Linked DNA regions of Homo sapiens: regions 1, 2, 3 and 4 are each linked to region 5. The links are contacts of gene promoters, found by promoter capture Hi-C in blood cells and fetal thymus (Javierre and others, 2016). All regions are on one chromosome and are shown on one strand. The core of a region is centred on a gene start or on the middle of the fragment in contact, and the rest is flanking DNA. Distances in the headings are between cores, read along the strand shown. Region 1 has its middle 28 kb from the start of DRAM1-AS1. Region 2 has its middle 37 kb from the start of MYBPC1. Region 3 has its middle 18 kb from the start of MYBPC1. Region 4 has its middle 45 kb from the start of SPIC. Region 5 holds the start of SYCP3 (synaptonemal complex protein 3).

What was found. Contacts are between HindIII fragments. The CHiCAGO score rates a contact against its expected background, and 5 or more counts as called.
Region 1: a fragment that was not itself captured here is called in contact with the fragment with the promoter of SYCP3 in region 5 in 2 of 17 cell types (neutrophils and total B cells); the score reaches 6.2 in neutrophils.
Region 2: a fragment that was not itself captured here is called in contact with the fragment with the promoter of SYCP3 in region 5 in 4 of 17 cell types (naive B cells, M1 macrophages, M0 macrophages and 1 more); the score reaches 7.8 in naive B cells.
Region 3: a contact is called between a fragment that was not itself captured here and the fragment with the promoter of SYCP3 in region 5, in 4 of 17 cell types (total B cells, naive B cells, M0 macrophages and 1 more). The highest score is 13.8, in total B cells.
Region 4: a contact is called between a fragment that was not itself captured here and the fragment with the promoter of SYCP3 in region 5, in 1 of 17 cell types (M1 macrophages). The highest score is 7.1, in M1 macrophages.

What each region holds. Positions count from the first base shown.
Region 1 is chr12:101,934,534-101,937,337 of GRCh38, forward strand. It overlaps the pseudogene RPL9P24. Among named protein-coding and RNA genes, the nearest start is that of DRAM1-AS1, 28 kb to the right of the region's middle. RefSeq lists an enhancer at 1,773-2,032. The HindIII fragment of the contact is 1,756 bases long and covers 479-2,234 here.
Region 2 is chr12:101,557,065-101,559,764 of GRCh38, forward strand. No RefSeq gene overlaps it. Among named protein-coding and RNA genes, the nearest start is that of MYBPC1, 37 kb to the right of the region's middle. The HindIII fragment of the contact is 6,553 bases long and covers 1-2,700 here.
Region 3 is chr12:101,576,047-101,578,746 of GRCh38, forward strand. No RefSeq gene overlaps it. Among named protein-coding and RNA genes, the nearest start is that of MYBPC1, 18 kb to the right of the region's middle. The HindIII fragment of the contact is 7,387 bases long and covers 1-2,700 here.
Region 4 is chr12:101,519,218-101,521,917 of GRCh38, forward strand. No RefSeq gene overlaps it. Among named protein-coding and RNA genes, the nearest start is that of SPIC, 45 kb to the left of the region's middle. The HindIII fragment of the contact is 2,263 bases long and covers 166-2,428 here.
Region 5 is chr12:101,738,039-101,740,738 of GRCh38, forward strand. It overlaps SYCP3 (synaptonemal complex protein 3), which reads right to left and starts at 1,424. Exons shown (of 9, transcript NM_001177949.2): 1 at 1,313-1,424. The HindIII fragment of the contact is 5,223 bases long and covers 1-2,700 here.

The DNA of each region.
Region 1 (2,804 bases), core at 107-2,606, 200 kb after region 5:
GCCAATCCTGAAACATAGTGATTAAGAATGAGTACTTTGATTCATAAAGAAAAAGCAGAATAGAAGTTACTAGGGGCTGGGGACAGGGGGAGATGGGGAATTATTGCTTAATGGACAAGAGTTTCTGTTTGGGATGGTGAAAAATTCCTGGAAATGGATAGTTGTACAACATTGTGAATACCATGAAATTGTAAATACTTTAAAATGATTAAAGTGGTACATTTTATGTTATGTATATTTTATCATAATTTTTTTAAAGAATAAGTACTTTGGAATCAAGACCTAATTTTCAAGACCTACCATTTCCTTTCTGTCACGCCTCAGTCAAGTCAGATAACGTCTTGGTGTCTCAGTACCCTTATCTGTAAAGTGGGAATAATGCTAGCACCTGCCTTGTAGGCTTGTCACGAGGATTCCTTGAAGCAATGCCTGTAAAGCACCTGGGAACTTGTTGGTGATCCTTATGCCTGCCCATTGAAGCTTGAAATGCCCAGCCTTAGCAGTTTGCCTGGCACAGCCAGAGCTGTGCATGGCAGATGCTGTTATAGCCCTTCCACCTCCCTCTCGACTGCATACCCTCAACTGTCTTCTCCCTGTACAGCAGCAGTTTTCAACTCTGGCTGCACATGAGAATCACCTGGAGAGTTTTTTTTTAAAACCCTGTTGCCTGGAGCAATTAAATCAGAATTTCAGGAAGTCAGATGGAAGCATTATTATTTCAGGTGATTTCAGTGTGCAGCCAAGGCTGAGAAACACGGTTCTGCTGTAGCGGTTTGCTAACTTTAGTGTGCATCAGAATCACCTGGAGGGTTTGTTAAAACACAGTTTCTGGGACCTGCCCCAGAGTTTTCCATTTAGTGGATACAAAACAACTCACCTGCTTTATTCCACCATCTATGTGGCTGCTCTTTGCTTTTGTTTGCCATCTATATCGTTTTACCCTCTTCCTAATAACCTCTTCCAGACCCATTACTGAAATCTTTGTTGAAAAGATTTGCCAATAGGCATCTTCATGCCAATGGTGTCTATATTCTCAAACCTGTTCCAGCTTTAGACGCAGTTGACTATGTCTCAAAATTCTCCTCCTTTGAATTCAGAGCTGCCACTCTTGGAGTTTTCCTCATTTCTCTTTCCTTCTCCCTCCTCTGCTTGGAACTCGGGACTCCCATGACCATTCTTTAGGTCCCTATTTTATCCCTTAAAAAGAGCACAGTCTTAAGTGTGAGAAAGATGTGGGTTTATGTCTTGTACCTGGGCAATTCAATCAAACTCTGAGCCTCATTTTTCTCACTGGTAAGTCATGGGTGATGATAATAGCACCCCTATAAATAATACATCCCTGACACATAACACTCAACTGTAGCTATTACACTGTTTCACCTTTAAAAACATTGCAAAATCTTGACCTCAGAGAGAATTCCAGGGGTGGTGGGACTAGCCCAAGGGATGCAAAGGGGAGAGCTGGGAATACAGAAAACACAGCGTGGAGGAATGAAGCCAGGATTTACCAAAAGCAAGGAGATAGTCCCAGGAATTTTCCAGGAGACCTAGGCAGACAGGGAAGTGACTAATGGGATCAGATAATAGGAACTGACCAAGAGACTCCCTATGACGGCATTAAAAGGTGGGCCTGACGAACACAGGGAGGGTGTTATTAACGGCACTAGGATGGGCTATGGAATGGCCCCAGAGGAAACCCACAAGGGGATTTCAACCCCATCAGTGTGGAACTCAGTCACTTTGGCAGGAAACAAAGTGAGAAGGAACCTGTTACAGTTTGCACCATCTATTATAGTCGATGCAAAACATGACTGTGGGGTGTTACACAGAGCTCTCATTACAAGATAAGGTCTCTGCGTGTCATTTCCCGTCAATGATGTTATTCAGCAGGATGGCTCACATGTTGAAACTTGAAACTCCTTGGGTGAAAAAAAAAATCCCTCTGCAGGCTATACCAGATGTTGCTTGTTGTAGCTCCTCAGGCCCAAAAAGATGAGTTAATCCTTGAAGGAAATTATTTTGAACTTGCATCAAACTCAGAGGCTTTGATCCAACAGGCCATGGCAATTGAAAACAAGGCTATCAGAAGAGCTGTGGGTGGTAGTCCTGTCTCTGAGAAAGGAACAGGGCCACTGGCTGACGGCTGCATTCCAGAACGCCTCCAGATGCAGAGGGCCTCACTTAGTGTGATGTTGTGAAAATACTGCACTTTAAACACATGTAGTCATAAACAAAGCTTCCTCACCCTTTAAAGACCTCACAGAAGTATCTCTCCAAGACGCTTCTCCTCTCCTGAATGCTCCAGGCCTTGCTGACCTCAGTTACCTTGAAGTTTCTCTTACCCTCATCACCCATGGCACACAGTTTAACACTTATTATTCTCCAAATACATAGTCTCCTTTCTCCAGTTATATGGTGAGTTCCTAGACATCCTAAACCCATAATATTTGATATTCCTCTGTCTCTCTGAATGCCTAGCATTCTAAGAGGAACATAACTTAAAAAGCGTCATGTTCCCCTTTGCATCCCTGAAATCTAGCACAGCACCTGGCATGTAACAGACACTCAATAAGCAAATAGGTGCTTATTAAATGAGTGGAATTGTTGATTGATAGCTAAGTTGAGTTGGCATGAAAAGGTAGATAAGGGAAGTTTTAGCAGGCATCTCTTATATTGTTTACCAAGTACCTCCCTCCTCTCCTTCCAGAAGTTTCCCTTACCCAATCCCATCTTTGTAGCTGCCACAGGAGTTGATGCAACCTGCTTCAGTGAGTTATTTTTTGAGACGTTTTGACTTGGAACCA
Region 2 (2,700 bases), core at 148-2,647, 180 kb before region 5:
GCATGCGCCTGTAATCCCAGCTACTCAGGATGCTGAGGCACAAAAATTACTTGAACCCAGGAGATGGAGGTTGCAGTCAGCCGAGATTGTGCCACTGCACTTCAGCCTGGGCAACAGAGCGAGACTCCATCTCAAAAAATAATAATAATAAGATACCATTTTGGGGGGAAAATATTGGGGGAAATATTTAAAATATTGGTAGCATTCAGTGCTGACAAAGATATTGTGCAATAGACATTGCGATATGTTGCTGTTAAGACTTTGAGTTACTACAAGTTTTGGGGAAGGAAACGTAGCAGTATGCACCAAAATAAAAAATATGATACCCCTTTACCCAGGAATTGTTCTTCCTGAAGTCTCTCCTAAATAAATGAAAGTACCAGAATATAAAGCTATTCATATAAGGATGTTTACTGAAGCATTATTTGGGCAAAAATTTTGGAAGCAACTCGAATGACCAATAAGATGGAAAAAATGAAAAATTTTTATATATTCACACTAATAAAAATAGTGAATTAGTGCTATATGTATTGCCTTAGTAATATTCGAGATATATTGAGGGAAATCAAAAATTTGTACTATAATGTGCATAGTTCAATCTATTCAACATTTTTTTTTCCCTCAGAGATGGGGTCTTGCTCTGTTGCCTGGGCTGGTGTGTTGTGGCATGATCAGAGCTCACTGCAGCCTTAAACTTCTGGGCTCAAGTCATCCTCCTGCCTCAGTCTCCCAAGTAGCTGAAATTATAGGTACAAGCCATGGCACCCAGCACATTCAAATATTTAAAAAGGAAAAAGGAAAAGGCTTACATATGCACAAATGTATTTGTCCAAAATAGAAAAATGTGTGGAAGGATACACATCAACTGTTACCATTAGTTACCTTGAGGTTGGAGGTATAAACTGTTGAGAAAAAGAATCCTCCGTGTTGGCGGTCCGTTGAGAAACTGGTATGTGGACAGATATTTGGGGACCTTGAAAATCAGTGGAATCATTATGGGGAGGATTAAATGAATTATACTCTCTTTGGGATATAGCCAAAGAAATAGCTACATCTCTTCTCTTTATGACTTCTTTCCTTAAAAAAAAAAATGGTATGACCATTCAGGACATAGGCATGGGCAAGGACTTCATGACTAAAACACCAAAAGCAATGGCAATAAAAGCCAAAATTGACAAATGGGATCTAATTAAACTAAAGAGCTTCTGCACAGCAAAAGAAACTACCATCAGAGTGAACAGACAACCTACAGAATGGGAGAAAATTTTTACAATCTACCCATCTGACAAAGGGCTAATATCCAGAATCTACAAAGGACTTAAACAAATTTACAAGAAAAAAACAAACAACCCCAACAAAAAGTGGGCAAAGGATATGAACAGACACTTCTCAAAAGAAGACATTTATGCAGCCAAAAGACACATGGAAAAAATGCTCATCATCACTGGTCATCAGAGAAATGCAAATCAAAACCACAATGAGATACCATCTCACACCAGTTAGAATGGCAATCATTAAAAAGTCAGGAAACAACAGGTGCTGGAGAGGGTGTGGAGAAATAGGAACACTTTTACACTGTTGGTGGGACGTAAACTAGTTCAGCCATTGTGGAAGACAGTGCGGCAATTCCTCAAGGATCTAGAACTAGAAATACCATTTGACCCAGTGATCCCATTACTGGGTATATACCCAAAGGATTATAAATCGTGCTGCTATAAAGACACATGCACATGTATGTTTACTGCAGCACTATTCACAGTAGCAAAGATTTGGAACCAACCCAAATGTCCATCAATGTATAGACTGGATTAAGAAAATGTGGCACATATACACCATGGAATACTATGCAGCCATAAAAATGGATGAGTTCATGTCCTTTTTAGGGACATGGATGAAGCTGGAAATCATCATTCTGAGCAAACTATCGCAAGGACAGAAAACCAAACATCGCATGTTCTTACTCATAGATGCGAATTGAACAATGAGAACACTTGGACTCAGGGTGGGGAACATCACACACCGGGGCCTGTCGTGGGGTGGGGGGAGCGGGGAGTGATAGCATTAGGAGATATACGTAATGTAAATGATGAGTTAATGGGTGCAGCACACCAACATGGCACATTTATACATGTGTAACAAATCTGCACGTTGTGCACATGTACCTTAGAACTTAAAGTATAATAAAAAATAAATAAATAAAAAAGGGTATGAATGTTTCTACGGCAGTGCTATAGAAAACCCACATGGCTGAAAAGCAGGCAGTAGTTAAGCAAACCACAAGGTACTAAGTCATAGAGCAATAGAATAGTAGAGGCCAGAAGTATGGTATCTGTTGGGCATGTGTTTGAGTTCTGGCTCTACTAGTTGCTGGCTGTGTGACCATAGGCACGTTGCTTATCTGTGAGCTTTGATGTCTTTATTTAGAAATGGCAATAGCAATAGTGTCTAGCTCATAGATTTGCTCTGAGGATTAAATGAGATATGCATATCATTATGATTACTACCACTTTATAACTTATGAAATGAATAAGTAAATGAATATGTGAATGGAAAACTCTGTAAGTTACTGTTACTTGAAAAGGCAGATTAGGATATGTTGCTCGATCTTAATTTTACAAAAATTACTTACACAATGATTAAAAGCAAAAGGTCTTAAAATTTTGTAAATGTCAGTAGTTGGTATTTTAACATTGAATTATT
Region 3 (2,700 bases), core at 27-2,526, 160 kb before region 5:
TCAGACAGCCGATCCACATAGCCCTTAGGATTAGAAGGATCTTTGTGGAAAAGTTCTTAATCCCATATAGGAAGGTATAAGAGGTATCATGATATCTTTGATACCATCTCTCAAACTTCTCCATCTTCAGGAGCTTTCTGGAAAAAAATTAGAATTCTCTTATTGAGATTATAGAGCAGACCCAAACTTCATGGGACATGGCCAAGGTCCTGTGTGGAGGGCTCAAGATGACATGCAAACTGTAGAATTTTTAACATGCTGTTGGAGATTTAGGACATTTACATAAAATTCATTTGGATGTGACTCTCTAGATCTTCTACTTGAGAAAGTATGCTTGGAAATATGTCCCAGGATGCAAATTGCATACAAGCAAAGATCTATGAATGTAACTGGAGACTTGATCTATATGTTGAATTATGATAATCTCCATTTGTCTCTGACAGGAAATGACCATGGTGTAATGGTGGAAATAGACTTAGTAGAGCTTGGAGGATGGTGGAGTTAATGAGGAGTCAAATCTCCTAATCTGCATGATTGGGGTGAAGGTGGGACTATTCACCTGATGAGAAAAATGGGAGAAACAACAGCCATTCTGTGTAGCGAATGCAACTTTGACCCTAAGAAATCCTTTATGCAGGTGGAGACACAGCTTCTTCAACCAATGAAAGAAATAATATCTGGCTTCTTGAATAGTTTCATGGTGCCACCAACAAAAACTATCATAGACCAACAATGGCAAGATGGCATCGGCAAGAATGAGCTGGTATGAAGAGGTGCTCAACCCATCCCACCACCATGGGAAATAATGTGGTAAACCGCCACTAGCATAACTGTTTACTTGCCTGTCTTCCCCGAAACTATAGGTTCTATGCAGGCAACACTCTGGATCTTCTTCTTTGTTGAATAGCCAGTGCTAACACTGTGCTGGGCCCAGAAAAGGTGCTCAATAAAGGGGTGTTGAGATGAATTGAATTGAAATCCCCTAAAGATTGGCCACAGAGTCTTAGTTATCTCAGGATGCTGGTGGAATCAAATCAGAAGCAAGAGATGCTCCCTATGCGTGGAAGGTTTAGGGTGCTGTGGAGGCTTTTGTATGCGGAAAACGTTGTTCAGAGGTTTACTTTGGAATACACAATAGGTATTAAATTTATTATAATTATACATTCATAAGCATAATTTTTAAAACTTTTAAATTCAGCTTAAACATCTAATTATTATTATTTTTTCTGGCAAAGTTTATCCATCACTTTTTTTTTTTTTTGAGACAGAGTTTCACTCTCGTTGCCCAGGCTGGAGTGCAATGGTGCAATCTCAGCTCACCGCAACCTCTGCCTCCTGGGTTCAAGCGATTCTCCTGCCTCAGCCTCCCGAGTAGCTGGGATTACAGACATGCGCCACCACGCCCCAGCTAATTTTGTATTTTTAGTAGAGATGGGGTTTCTCCGTGTTGGTCAGGCTGGTCTTGAACTCCCAACCTCAGGTGATCCGTCCTCCTTGACCTCCCAAAGCGCTGGGATTACAGATGTGAGCCACCATGCCCAGTCTATCCATCACTTTTGAGAAGATATAATAATATTGTTTCATTTACAAATCTAGTTAGCTAAAGCTAAATAATCTTTCTAAAACATCACATCACTTTAATAGGCTAGATTTTATAAGTTTAATATATTTGTTTTCTTTTTAAATATTTTGCTTTTATGAACTAAATGAGTTCTTAAATGCTTAACTGCTGTGCATGTACATGTGCATAAATGAAAACGCTCTGAAATATGTTAATGCTGCCCATAAATTTAGTGAGATTTCAACTTAAAATCAAAAGTATAAATTTTTTTTAATTTTTTATTTTTTGGAGGCAGGGTCTCACTCTGTCTCCCAGGCTGGAGTGCAGTGGCACAATCTCTGCTCATTGCAACCTCTGCCTCCCAGTTTCAAGAGATTCTAATGCCTCAGGCTCCTGAACACCTAGGATCACAGGTGTGCGACACCATGTCTGGCAATTTTTTTTTTAATTTTTAGTAGAGATGGGGTTTTGCTTCGTTGGCCGGGCTGGTTTCAAACTCCTGACCTCAAATGATCCGCCCACCTTGGCCTCGGAAAGTGCTGGGATTGCAGGTGATAGCCACCGTGCCTGGCCAAAAGTATAAATTATTTACACAATTACACATTTTAAATTAGAATTACAAGACTGTCTCTTAACTAGCACAGTACAAATGTCTAATATTAATGCATTAGTTTTGATTCTCTGAAAATTTTCTACACATAGTTCTAAATCTTTCTGGGGTTTTAAAAAATGAATATTCAATGAAGATGATTACTGTACTAGTTAACTGAGGTTGCCCTCTCACCCCAATTAATGAAAGTCATTTAGAACTAGAAATTTTGTCCAGACTTGAGACCTACAGCTCCGGAGATGCTTAGTGATTCTTCTCTCTACTCCACTGTCATCCTGAGCTTCTTTTTATAAACAGTGTGTTTTGGGCTTTGACACTTGAAAGAAGGTTGTCCTTTAATCTGTATCACCCAATTCTCTGTCTATTCTCAAGTAGCTGTAATTCGAAGCCAACTTCAAACCAGTTTGCTCATTTGCTTGCATTTTGTGTTTCTTCAGCTCTTAATATATGTGCATAGGTTTGTCATTTACAGCAAAGACTTTTAAACTTGACAGGATTTGTGTATACATAAATTATTTTCCATTAAACT
Region 4 (2,700 bases), core at 47-2,546, 220 kb before region 5:
CACCATCAGCTGTCCCACATCTCCAGCTCACTGACTGCTGATCTTGAGACTTCTCCGCCTTTATAATTGGATAAGCCAATTCATTACAATAAATCTCTTTACACACACACACACACACACACACACACACACATTCTATTTTTTTGGAGAACCCTGACTAATATAAGCTTCTACAGCAAAACACAGCAGACTTGGTGGCTTTAACAACAGAAATTTATTTCTCACAGTTCTGGAGTGTGGGAAGTCCAAGATCAAGGTGCCAGCCAATTTAGTTCCCAATGAGGGCTCCCTTCCTGGCATGGCAATTGCTATCTTCTTGCTCTGTCCTCAAGAGGTGGGGAGGAGAAGGCGAGAGACAGAGAACTCTTTAGTGTCTCTTCTTATAAAGACACTAATCCCAGGAGATCAGGGCCCCACCCTTAAAGACCCCTTTTAACCTTAATTACATCCTTACTCCAATACAGTCACATTGGGAATTAGAGATTCAAAATATGAATTTGGAGGGGACACATACTTTCAACCCACAGCCAATATTAACTCAGAAAAACTGCTTTTTTTTTTGAGACAAAGTCTTGCTCTGTCACCCAGGCTGGAGTATAACGGCACGATCTCAGCTAACTGCAACCTCCGCCTCCTGGGTTCAAGTTATTCTCCTGCCTCAGCCTTCTGAGTAGCTGGGATTACAGGTGCCTGCCACCACACCCAGCTAATTTTTGTGTTTTTAGTAGAGATGGGGTTTCACCATGTTGGTCAGGCTGGTCTCAAACTCCTGACCTCGTGATCCACCCTCCTCAGCCTCCCAAAGTGCTGGGATTACAGGTGTGAGCCACTGCGCCTGGCCAGGAAAAGTGTTTTTTAAAAGTGTTCTTATTCTACAGAATGTTTTTATTCCATTTTTACATGGGTCTTTAGCATCCAAGTCACTGGGGCCACTTTTTAAGCCACCAACCTAATTTGTCCTTGCCATCTGAATTGTTTCTATAGCTCTCCTTGAATCACTTATGATTCCATTACAAGAAATGTCATTGCAAGACCAAGTACTCATTTGCAAACGTTAAGGTCATCTTTTTTATACAAAAAAATAACAGATGGCTAGGATGCGGAAAAAAGAGAACTCTTACACACTGTTGGTGGGAATGAAAATTAGAATAGCCACTATGGAAAACAGTATGGAGGTGTCTCAAAAAACTAAAAATAGAACTTCCATATGATCCAGCAATCCCACTACTGGGTATCTACCCACAAGAAAAGAAATCAATATATCAACGGGATACCTGTCCTCACATGTTTATCACAGAGCTATTCGCAATAGCAAAGATATGGAATCAACCTAAATGTCCATCAACAGATGACTGGATTTTAAAATGTGTTATATACGCACAATAGGAAACTATTAGACCATAAAAAAGAATAAAGTCATGTCATTTGCAGCAACATGGATGGAATTGGAAGCCATTATCTTAAGTGAAATAAGCCAGGCACAAAAAGACAAATACCACACATTCTGGCTCATATGTGGGAGCTAAAATATTTGCTCACATGGAGGTAAGAGTGAAAATATAGATAACAGAGACTGGGAAGGGTGAGCTGTGGGGAGAGGAGGGGATGAATAGAAGTGGATTAAAGGGTACAACATATAGTAAGATAGAAGGAATAAATTTAAAGTGAACTTTAAAAATCTTGCTGACACCAACACTCACAATTGTGAAGTCACATCCTCAGAAATTATAACTAAATCTGTGTTAGATTTTTCATCTCCATTTTTACCAATTTTATAAGCCTTTCAGATGAACATTGATCGAGGTGGTTTCAGACAAATAACTCTTCCCCAAACAGAACTTTGTTGCAAAAAATAAAGTAATTGCAAGAGTGTGGCAGTGTATAAGTCTGTTTTCTCACTGCTATAAAGAACTACCTGAGACTGGGTAATTTATGAAGAAAAGAGGTTTAATTGACTCACAGTTCTGCAGGCTTAACAGGAAGCATGACTGGGAGGCCTTTGGAAACTTACAATCATGATGGGGAAGCAAGCACTTTCTTCACAGGGAGGCAGAAGACAAGTGGTGGGGGGAGATGTCACACTTTTAAACCATCAGATCTCGTGAGAACTCACTCACTATCATGAGAACAGCATGGGGGAAATCTGTCCCCATGATGCAATCACTTTCCACCAGGTCCTTCCCTGACACATGGGGATTACAGTTTGACATCAGATTTGGATGGGGACAGAGAGCCAAACTATATCAGTCATAATATAAATTTTTCTAAGGATTCAAAAGTAGGGAGACTCTTAAGTCTCCTATTCAAAGTCTCCTTTGAATGAAACATCTTATAAACTTCCAAACTTCTTTTTTTTTTTTTTATTGAGAGACAATGTATTTGGGGAAATTACATTTTGAGTCCTTAAAGATCTACTAGTTGAACTCGAAGCTTGTCTCTTCTCTGGACACTGGTACTCCCCAGGGACTTGTTGAGACACCCACCCTCCCTTGCCCACTTTGGAAAACCCAGTTTGATTGTTTGTTTAGAAGGGGACCTTATGTTACTCTTCTGAGCATCCACATGGCATCGATGCAGCAGGGAACATTTGTTGAGCCCTTATTATGTGCCAGGAACTCTGCTAAGGGCTTTTAAATCTTATCTTACTAAATCCACTCAACAACCCAGTGGTGGTACCAACAGGTATCTTGGAAGGTCTAC
Region 5 (2,700 bases), core at 174-2,673:
CGAACAAGGATTGTTGAATACAATTTTAACAGTTTCCTCATTTATTTGGGGGGCCAAAAGTTAAGAAGATAATGACATTTGTTAAAAAATAATAAAATAAATAGGCCAAGCACGGTAGCTCACGCCTGAAATCCCAGCACTTTGGAAGGTTGAGGCAGGCAGATCACCTGAGGTCAGGAGTTCAAGACCAGCCTGGCCAACATGATGAAACCCCGTCTCTACTGAAAAAAAAAAACAAAATTAACCGGGCGTGGTGGCACGTGCCTGTAGTCCCAGCTGCTCAGGAGGCTGAGGCAGGAGAATCGCTTGAACCCGGGAGACAGAGGTCACAGTGAGCCAAGATCGCAGCCACTGCACTCCAGCCTGGGTGACAAGAGTGAAACTTCGTCTCAAAAAAAAAAAACAACAACAGAAATGGCCGGGCGCTGTGGCTCATGCCTGTAATCCCATCACTTTGGGAGGCCGAGGTGGGTGGATCACCTGAGGTCAGGAGTTTGAGACCAGCCTGGCCAACATGGTGAAACCCCGTCTCTACTAAAAATACAAAATTAGCCGGGCGCGGTGGCGGGTGCCTATGATCTCAGTTACTCAGGAGGCTGAGGCAGAAGAATCGCTTCAACCCGGGAGGCGGAGGTTGCAGTGAGCTGAGATGGCCCCACTGCACTCCAGCCTGGGCGACAGAGTGAGACTTCGTCTCAATCAATCAATCGATGAGAGAGAATGACAGTGTCCACCCCGACTCCAAGCGCGCAGTGCTGGAGAGGTGGCCCCTGAGGCCTGGGAGTTCCAAATTTTGGGGCCGCCTCTGCCAGATTCTGGCTAAATCTGGGCAACTCTAGCAGGGCGCTCAGTCACGCGGGGAAATTATAGTTGCTGGCGGGACACGACATGAGGATGCCAGAAATAAGCTCATAATAATCAAGACAAATAATAAAAACGTCCCGCAATTTAGGTCTCGGAAAATGAACACAGGCAGAAGATTTCGACAACAAATACATCGAGGAACCACGAAAGGCGCCCTCGGCGTGGAGCGGGCAGGAGGGAGACGCGCGGAGCGAGGTAGGGCCCTGCCCGGCCCCGCCGCGTCCCTCCTGTAAGTGGTCCCAGGGTGTAGCGATGGGGCCCAGCCCCAGCCCAGCCCGCCCGCTTTCCACTAGGCCCTATCCTGCTCAAGGCCCTGTCCTCAGGTTCGCGGCCTCCGTTTTCTCGTCAGAGGCCCCAGGCGACGCCAGGAGGTAAGATTTACCTCACTGGTCAAGGGCAGCCTCTGGCCTGGACACCTGCGATAGACAGACGCCTCCCCTGCTCACACCTGAAACACACCGCAATGGCCGAGGACCAGTTACTGGTCGTCGACAGGCGTCCTCCACAACTCCTCCACAAGCGCGCTTCACCTGAGGTGGCCCCTTCTCCGCGACGCTTCTGAGGCAAGCTGGGATTCGCACAGGAGAAAAGCCAGTCCCGCCTCATCCGGACACGTCGCTGATTGGCTGGACGCAGAGCGCAGGCGTGAACTGGGTGGCGAGGCTCCGCCCCCATGGGGCGATTGCGCGCCCAAATAGCTGGCCCAGGGTGCTTTGGCCGCCGGAGCGGGTTGCGAGTACACTTGAGGCCTGGTGCCTTCCAGTTTTTAAGTTTTAAATGTTTATAATCGAAAATTGCAGCTAGGCGCAGTGGCTCACACCTGTAATCCCAGCACTTTGGGAGGCCGAGGCAGACGGATCACTTGAGGTCAGGAGTTCCAGACCAGCCTGTCCAACATGGCGAAACCCATCTCTACTAAAAATACAAAAATTAGCCGGACGTGGTGGCGGGCGCCTGTAATCCCAGCTACTTGGGAAGCTGAGGCAGGAGAATCGCTTGAACCCGGGAGGCAGAGGTTGCAGTGAGCAAGACCATGCCATTGTACTCCAGCCTGGGCAACAGAGTGAGACTCCATGTCAAGAAAAAAAAAAAGAAAATTGCGGAATAATATGTAAATTATGAAACATGATGAACATACCACCTAATTTATGAAGTAGGGCTTTACCAACATTCACTGAATCTCCTCAGGCAGGCCTTTCCATCCGATCCTCACCAGGACCCCACCCTTCCCCATTCAGGGATATAAGAAAATTATCCTAAATTTATGTAAATCATTCACCCTTCCTTATTTTCTAAGTTTTATTACCACATGAAAATGTGTCGTTAAACAACACGGCTTAGTTTCGTTCGCGTTTGGCATTACAAAAAATTGTCCCATAGTCTATGTAGTGTTCTGACAGTCCACTAGAATGGCAAAACTACAAAATATGACTACACGGAGTGATGATGAATCTATGTAACAAAGGGAACCCATTCAGTGGGTGGGAGTATAATTGTAAAACAATTATTTGGTGTAACTGGAAATCACCTATCAATTGCAAAACAATTTTTGAAGATACAATTTATGAAGGAAATGAAACTCACCTATAATCCCACTACCCAGAAATAATATACAGTTTAAAATTGGGGGTATTATTGCCTTTCATCCTTTTTTCTGTGCTTATATGTATTTTCCCCCAAATAATTTTAAAATATATTTCAACCTTTGTACCTGCCTTAGTTTGCTCACAGCTCTGCAATCCTTTTTCTATTTGAAATCATACATTTTACTTTTTTTTTTTTTTTTTTTTTGAGACAGGGTTTTGCTCTCTTGCCAAGGCTGAAGTGCAGTGGCAT